Regions from separate parts of the Homo sapiens genome. Here all the other regions are linked to region 2. Evidence: promoter capture Hi-C in 16 types of primary human blood cells and fetal thymus (Javierre and others, 2016). All regions are on one chromosome and are shown on one strand. The core of a region is centred on a gene start or on the middle of the fragment in contact, and the rest is flanking DNA. Distances in the headings are between cores, read along the strand shown. Region 1 has its middle 18 kb from the start of LIN28A. Region 2 holds the start of PDIK1L (PDLIM1 interacting kinase 1 like). Region 3 overlaps DHDDS (dehydrodolichyl diphosphate synthase subunit).

Region 1 (2,700 bases), core at 148-2,647, 280 kb before region 2:
CCCCCGCCTCGGCCTCCCAAAATTGCTGGGATTACAGGTGTGAGTCCCAGCCCCTGGCCCCCTTTCCCATTTTTTATAGTGCTCTACACATCTGTGACAGAGCATTTGTCCCACTGTATTATATATATTTGCTTATTTGTCTTTCTTTCCCACTGACCACTACAATGTAAACCCCATAAGCCAGGGACTATGTTTTGTTCATTGTGTCAGTATGCAGCACAAAGCTTGGGATAACGTAATTGCTTATTAAATGTTTGTTGAATTAATAAATGCATGACTTGCCCCAGTTTCCACAGTTAATAATGGCCAAAATTAGAATGCAGATTTTATTTCCAAGTCCAAGAATTTGTTTTTACCATCTCCCGAACCTAACCTAGTTCTTACTCCTAACCCCTGCTGTCAGGCCTGTCCCCTCTAATTCCTCAGAATCTTAGGTCACTTATCCGGAAAGGAACTTAGAGCTCATCTGATTCAATCCCTTCATTTATAGATAAGGGAACTAAGACTCATAGAAGGTAAATGCTTTGTCAAGGCTACACAGCAAAAATTGTTGCCATCCTTTCTTCCTGACAACCAGATTGGTGTTTTTTTTAATGGGATTCACCAAAGAGTTCATGGACTCCCAGGGCTTTGTCTTGGGGACGGGGGTAGTAGTAAATAAATAATTCCATCTAAGGCTCTCCTTTTATACTCCCTAGACACCCCAAAGGCTAGACACCCAAGAGTCTATTCTGAGACATCCCATCAGGCAGAAATTTCAAGCAAGACAGGATAGAGGGGTGTGGGAGTGTGTGTGTGTGTGTGTGTGTATAGGATCATGGGGCACTAAGGATGCAGACGTGAAAACTGGGCTGCAGCACAGCCCCTCTGTTGTGGGGTCCCTCGAGTCTCCCACCATGGCAACACCACTCCCTCTGCCCCTGAAGCTGACCTTTGGGGCCAGAGATCAATAACTTGGACTTTGGCTTCAGTCCCCTTTGGCCCCCCAGTGACCATAGGCTGCCCAGAAGAGCTAGTGGGACTCAGAGTCATTAAGTAACTGTCACTCTTCCCCAGCCCCATTTTGGGGCATGGCTGGGGGAGGGGCCAGGGATGGGAACTATATGGAGAGTCACAGGTGTGGTCTGGTTCTTCCCATCCTCACTGGAAGAGAAGTGACCTCTATCTCTCTTTGACCCCCACCCACTTCTTTTTACCCTCGGCCAAGAGGCTTCCTCCTGCCCTCTCTACTCCTCCATGTCCTTAGCACTGAGCCCTGACTCCCCTCACAGAACCCCCGTGCTCCTCACCATGTTCCTCTTAGTCCAATCTTTTATGAACCCCCTCCTCCCATTGTGCTCACACTTTATATAAACTGGAGGTATTTTACCCTTTTGTCAGCCAAGACAGTAGTCAGAGGCCGGGTGCGGTGGCTCACTCCTATAATTCCAGCACTTTGGGAGGCGGAGGCAGGTGGATCACCAGAGGTCAGGAGTTCGAGACCAGTCTGGCTACCATGGTGAAACCCCATCTCTACTAAAAATACAAAAAATTTGCCAGGCTTGGTGGCAGGCACCTGTAATCCCAGCTATTTGGGAGACTGAGGCAGGAGAATCACTTGAGCCCGGGAGGTGGAGGTGGCAGTGAGCCAAGATTGCCCCATTGCACTCTAGCCTTGGCAACAAGAGCAAGACTACATCTCAAAAAAAAAAAAAAAAAAAGACAGTAGTCAGGAATTTCTCATTCACCTTTTTCTAAATACCTCATCCCAGGTATCTTCTCACCAACTATTCTCCTCCAGAGAAATCCACTGTTCTGCCATACTTTTAGCGGGATCCTGTTTCAGAAACACACTCACCTACCCCACCACCACCCCACCAACTTTCCTTGCTCTTCACCCACCAGTCCTCGTCCACCTCCACCCCAGTGTCCCAGCCAATCACTACTGATTGATTGATTTGGGAGGAGGGGGAAAGAGGATCGATGGAGGACTCTGGGCCTATTCTTATTCAAAGCAAAAGGTTTAAGAGGGGGTGGATATTCATTGTGGAGAGGATGCAGAAATCGCTGTGGCGCTCCACAGCCTTGCTGATGTGGTCTGCAGCGTGGGGGAGGGTGGGTCAGGCCACTGGGGGTGGGGACGGATGCTCTGAAGGCTGGGAGGACAGTGGTGTGGGGGCTGATAGAGGTAAGAAGAAGGCATGCATCAGCAGTCTGGGCATAAGGTGAGGTTCCCCAACTCTGCCCCTCAGGGAGGAAATTTATGACCGAGAGTCATTCTTCCCAGCTCAGAGAGGATGCCCTGGGTACTCTCAATGTCCAGCAGGGGACACCCTTACCCCACATGACCCCTTTCCTCATCCACCATCACTAAGTTCCGTTGTTCATTCATTCATTCATACATTGAAACGTTGTTTGAGTGCCACTATGTGCCAGACACCATGCCACAGACTGGAAAAATACAGGCATGAACAAGATAGATACACAGACAAATGAGGTTCCAGGCCTTGTGGCACCAGCAGGGCAGGATTACAGTGAACAAATAGTTATAGTGATTTAATTTAAGGGAAAGGAGATCAGAAAAAAGCTTTCCTCAGAAACTGATTTTGAAACAGAGACTTAACAGATGCCTAAATCTTGACCAAAGAAAATGTGAAAAAGAGGTAAAGGGGGGGCGTTTGTATGTGTGTGCATGTGTTGAGAGTGTGTTTCAGGCAGAGG
Region 2 (2,700 bases), core at 6-2,505:
GTAAACAATATCTATTTAGTTCTAGGTCATTTTTGCCAACAAAGATCCTGCATATCAAGGGGCTCTCTGACAGAGTTCTTGGGAATTCAACTTACTGAACGGTTTAAAGGCGAGGGCAAAGGCCCTGCACAGAAATGCTCATGTGTTGAATGGAGAAAGTCTAAAGTGGGCTTCCTCAGCGCCCAAAGAATTTCTAGATTATAACCAACTTCATGAACGAATTCTCATTTGTAGATTGTGACCACGGGCTAGAAAAGTAACCTGAGATTGTACAATATTTATTCTGTACAGCTGGGGAAGCAAAAGGCTACTGACCCTAGAGCCTGAGAAGTTGGGATCCACTGCTTTAAGTCTACAGGATAGATTTAATAAAAAGAAATGACTTCTGAGATTGTGTTCAGTCCCACTTCCTCTAACTGGACACCCACCCTTCAAATCGCTACTGAATTTCCTAGTGTCTAATTTCCTGCCACAGAATCCTCTGCGCCGGCTGCACAGCAGACGAGCTTTCCTGCTCTACGGGGATCGCCAATCACATCCACTCAAGGTGGTTCGTGTCTCTGAAGCAGTGCCATGTCCTCTCCAGCCTGGTACAGTCCCCATGGGGAAGAGCACCTTCCTGAATAGGGAGGAGAGAGGTGTTTATGAAACCCGTGGGATCCCGGATCCAATGATGCATCCGATGCGAACCTAAGTGACTTTCGACCGAAAGTGGCGGGCCCTCGCTCCCGCTGCTCTAACCAGGCGCTGGGACGCGAGCCGGCCAGGCCAGACACCTGCCGGCGCCCGGGAAGGGCCAGTCGCGGCCAGAGGTGTTGCCCGACGCGGCGGCTCAGGCCGCGCTCATTGGCCAAGTGTCAGGCCCTCCCCCTCCTCGGCCGTGCTCAGATGAAGCCCGGAGGGGAGCCTCCTGAGCCCCTTCGCTCTGAGGAGCCAGCCCTGCAGTTGCCTCAACTCCTCGGGGCTGGGGGCTGAGGGCCGGGGGGAGGTGGCCCCGGTATGAGAGGAGGCCGCGACTGGGGTCGGTGGCCTGAGGAGCGCAGGGCCTTCCCCAGGATGACTCCGCTGACACGTCTGTGACAAGCCTCCCAGGGAGGGAGGCACATGCAGGGCCATCGGCTCTGCAGCAAGACCTCTCCGCCACGCCGAAAGGCCAGATTTACCTCAGGGTAGACGCTGCCGCTTCTCCCTCTCATGGGCTCTGCAGGCCGCCATTATCGGGCAGCTCGCGCCTCCGCTGCCGCCGCCTCCAGTCAGCAGCCGGCGCGCGCCCCCGTGGTGCGCGCGGACACACCCCCTTACGCCGACGGCCCCGCCCCCCTCCGGCTTTCCGTAGCGCGAGCCGGGACGTTCCGCGCCACCGACGAGGCGCGCGGCCGGCGCTCCGCTCGCCTCCTCCCTCTCTCGAGGATTTGCAGAGCCGGGAGTCGTCGGAGGTGTGCGCGCTCCGGAGCGCACCACTGGTGCTGCTCCCCGCAGGGGTGGCCGGGCTCGGGAACCGCGAGGCCACGCCACGCCGGGGCTCGGCCACCCTCCAGCCGCAGCGGGCGCTCAGGGCCCGCGGCCCCGGGGACCGTCTGCAGCGGCAGGTCCGGGCCTGGGGCTGCGCGCGCCCGGCCGCGGCCTCCCCTCCCTCTACCCGCCCCCTTCCGACCTACCGAGCTGCGGGCTGGGGTGCGGGGCTCGCTGGGGTGGAACGCCCGGTGCATCTTCCGCGCGGGTCTCGGGTGCCTGCGGGGCGCGGTGCTCTTTGGCGGGCCTGCGGGGAGGTGCGGCCCGACCAAGGAGGCCTGGCGTCCGCCCCGCCGGGAGGGAGACTGCAGCTTTTCTCCGAGTCACTGAGCCATGTTTGCGGGCGGTGCAGTTGCGGAGACGGCGGCGGCGGCGGCGGCGCGGGGCTGGGTGCGATCATCTGGGAGGATGCCGTCCCCTGCCCCGCCGGCGCGGTGGTATCTCCCTTAAAGAGGCCGGCGCCTCATTGTTCCCCGGCTGCGGCCGCAGGGAGCCAGGGCCACCTCCTCGGCGTGGGGAGTGAGGGCGCGGAGGCGCCTGCACCTGGCTGCGGTGCCCACGGCGCCCCCCCGCGAGGCTCCTGGTGGAGGGTTGGTCTGCAGTCGGCGCAGGGGAGAGGCCTTGGTCCGAGCCAGGATCCACCGCGCTCCTGCCGCTCTCGGGGCTGGACAGTCAATGGGGTCCCCGCCGCTGCTGCAGTCGCTCGGCTGCCACACGCTGTTAGTCAGATCCCGCACGCTGTTGGCCCCACAGCCAGCCCGGGGTCACTTAGGACCGCATTCCTCAGTCATCCAGTTGTTAGATCAGTAAGCATCCGCCAGAAAAGTCCATTCCTTCTTACTCGATTTATTCTGCACCCATTACTTCTCAGCAGGGTGATGATTCCTCCTCCCAGCGCTCGCTCTGTAAGGCACGATGTACAAAAAATCCCTGTCGCTGTGCTCAAAGATCAACTCATTTTATTTTCTGTCCTTTATGCCCCTTCTCCCGAGAGTCTGGCACTGGGTTAGGTCTTTATATAAATGATCTTGCTTAATCCTAACCAAACCCCACAAGAGTAGGTTTTATTATCCTGTTTTTACAGGTGAGGAAACACCTCTGCCTCTTCTCACTGAAGTGTCTGTTTTGGGATGTGTCTACCTTGAATACCCATTCCTGGTGTAACACACCCTCCCCTTAAAAAAAAAA
Region 3 (2,700 bases), core at 124-2,623, 350 kb before region 2:
GAATACTTCTCTTCTGCTATTACAATGAATTACATGTGGAGCTATGAGGACTTCGGGCTTGAACAGTTGCCGTAGAGCTCTCCGTCTTGCTGGAAGGGCTTCTTCCAGGCCTTGGTCAGGAGGCTCCCTGGGTGCTACATACAGGATTTTTTTTGAGGATATGGAGATGCGCAGGACACGATCCCAGCAATCCAGGTGCTTACAGGCTGATTGTACAGCCATGCACACAGAGTGCCACGATGCAAAATAGGATGTGGTAAGGGTCATGCAGTTCAGAGGAGAAAGCAAGTGTGGCTGATGAACATCACGGAGCAGTGACCTTCATGGACAGACAGAATTTGAGCTGGCCCTTTAACCAATGAGGAGGATTCAAACAGAGGTGAGGTGTGTGGGGGGCAGGGAGAATATTCTGGCAGTGGGAGTAATGAGCAAAGATGCATGGAACCGAAGAGCCTGTTAAGGCCAGAGTAAGTCCACCTGGAGCACTGGGGTTTGAGAAGTTCCTAAGGCCTCCCTCACCTCTCTAAGGCTCTCTCTTACTCTGCAAAACCGGGATAAGAGTACCCACCTCACTGGGTTGTTTGAGGAAAAATGAGATAATGAATTTTCAGCCTACTGCTTGGCTATTAACTGTTAGCTGTTCTATCACCGCCACTTGTGGACTGGGCTAAGTAGTCTAAGTTTCTGGCAGAACAGAAAGGATGGGGGACGCTCAGCAACAGAGGGAGGAAATATGGAGCTAGCTAAAGCCACTTCATGAGGCGCAAGCTTCTTCCAGATGGCATCAGAGTGCATGCCAGCAATGGGGGCTGTAGCCCAGGCAGAGCCTGGCCCCTGTCTGCCAGGAATTAGCAGTTCATTGTTCAGATAGCAGAGTTGGGAGGGTGTCTGCTCGTCATTTTACAGAAAATGACAGCGAGGCTGAGATGGCTGAAGTTCCCTTGGCTTCTCCACTAAGATAACTTCTTGAGAGGACAATGTGAAGTGTATCTCGTGCCTGTGTATAAGCTCTACTTTCTAGGGGTGGAAAAGCTGGTGGCCTGTATCTGGATACCTGTCTATCCAGCTTCCACATGGTCTGAATCTACCCTTTCAATCTCAGAGGTGTTTCCAGTTCTTCTCAAGTACTTACCCTTGGGAAATCCAAGCTAACAGAAGTCCTAGAGGTCAACTTTTCTCTCCCTGACCATTTGTCTACTATCCTTGTATAATGACCAATCAGGGTAAGTGAGGGCGTTAATTCTTTCCTTAGAGACTTTTTGTACAGACCTTATCCAATCTTGGTGCAAGGGCTCCAAGAAGCTCACTTTGAGAAATGTGGTTCTAACCTATGAATCTAAATTCCTCCTGGGCATTATCCCTCTCTGCTCTTATTCTCTCCTTGGTAGAATCAGAGAACAAGATGTAATAGTCCCTCCAGTACTTAAATCTAAAAGTCCTCTACCACTCTGTTGGCACCTGGAGAGAGGCTGCAGGTCCTTGGCTTCAAAACATTAGCCAATGAAAAGTCCTTCCCCAAGCTGCAACCAGCCAGCCCAGGTCAGCAGCATGAGGAATGCATTTCTGAGGGCTGCTCTCAGGCAGAGAAGGGCACCTCCTACCAGAAACATGATGTTCTGAAGCACCCTCAGAGTCTCCTTGCCTGGGGAGTTGTACTGGGGACAGGATGTGCAGGGTGCTTTTCCAGAGAGGAGTCTGAGGAGAGGCCAAGAGACACACATGTGGGGAACAATATTGGCCACCATTCTTGGAAAATGAACTCTGTTCCAGCCACTGCACTCAGCACTTGACATGTGTTAGCTTACTGAATCCCTATCACAAACCTGCAAGGTAGGTATTACTGTAAACGCTACTTCTCTCATTTTACAGGTGAGGAAAATGATACTCTGAGGGGTTAAGTAACTGTACAGTCATATAGCTATGTAGGCAGTGCCAATATTCAAAGTCATGAATGTCTGAGACATTAACTCAAGCTTTTAGGCTAAGGTGGGAGGCTCGCTTGAGCCCAGCTGCTCAAGACCAGCCTGGGCAACATGGCGAGACCCCATTTCCACATGCATACATATATGCATACATACATAACTCAAGCTTTTATCCTGAGGAGAAGATAGTGACAACCTGAAGAGCAGAAGAAATATAATGTTCAATCCAGCCCGTTTAAATTGTGACAAATGTACTACAGGAAGCTTCGTGGGAACATGTGTCTTTTCCCTCTCTAATATCATCCTTGGAGATGAGGTGAACACTTTTTACTCATCTCCATCAGTGACCTCTCAAGGACCTACCATCCATGCAACTTGTGATTGAGGATCAGCTGCTCTGCACTGCCGCACACCCCCTCCCTGGCCTGATTCTCTATTTGTCCCTGCCTCTTTGCTGACAAGTCCTACTGCATCATAGTCAAGATCTCCCTTTGCCAGCCTTTAAGACTGGCTAGGTGACCACCTGGAGACTGTCATGGTCCATTCAGATACCAAGGTCTGGCTCCCCACAACTTGTAGCCAAGTCCCTGCTTCCCTTACGATCCACCCGCTGCCTTCCTCTCAGTAAGCTACTCTAGGTCCAGAGCCTAGCCCCTTGCCCTGGCTTCCTGCAGAGAATAGGGACACATTGGGCAGGGCCTAGAGACAGAGCAGCTCAGATTTTAAAATGGGAATTTGGGTGATGGGGCAAGAGCACAGACATACAGGTAGGAAACTG

Evidence for each region. Contacts are between HindIII fragments. The CHiCAGO score rates a contact against its expected background, and 5 or more counts as called.
Region 1: a fragment that was not itself captured here is called in contact with the fragment with the promoter of PDIK1L in region 2 in 9 of 17 cell types (M2 macrophages, M0 macrophages, M1 macrophages and 6 more); the score reaches 15.4 in M2 macrophages.
Region 3: a contact is called between a fragment that was not itself captured here and the fragment with the promoter of PDIK1L in region 2, in 1 of 17 cell types (total B cells). The highest score is 5.6, in total B cells.

What each region holds. Positions count from the first base shown.
Region 1 is chr1:26,391,274-26,393,973 of GRCh38, reverse strand. No RefSeq gene overlaps it. Among named protein-coding and RNA genes, the nearest start is that of LIN28A, 18 kb to the left of the region's middle. The HindIII fragment of the contact is 2,342 bases long and covers 227-2,568 here.
Region 2 is chr1:26,110,379-26,113,078 of GRCh38, reverse strand. It overlaps PDIK1L (PDLIM1 interacting kinase 1 like), which reads right to left and starts at 1,255. Exons shown (of 3, transcript NM_152835.5): 1 at 1,164-1,255. RefSeq lists enhancers at 492-601, 982-1,211 and silencers at 1,262-1,901, 1,962-2,241. The HindIII fragment of the contact is 5,419 bases long and covers 1-2,700 here.
Region 3 is chr1:26,464,727-26,467,426 of GRCh38, reverse strand. The region is part of intron 8 of DHDDS (dehydrodolichyl diphosphate synthase subunit); the gene reads right to left. It overlaps DHDDS-AS1 (DHDDS antisense RNA 1), which reads left to right. Exons shown (of 3, transcript NR_125953.1): 1 at 1-379. Among named protein-coding and RNA genes, the nearest start is that of DHDDS-AS1, 1.5 kb to the left of the region's middle. The HindIII fragment of the contact is 1,205 bases long and covers 771-1,975 here.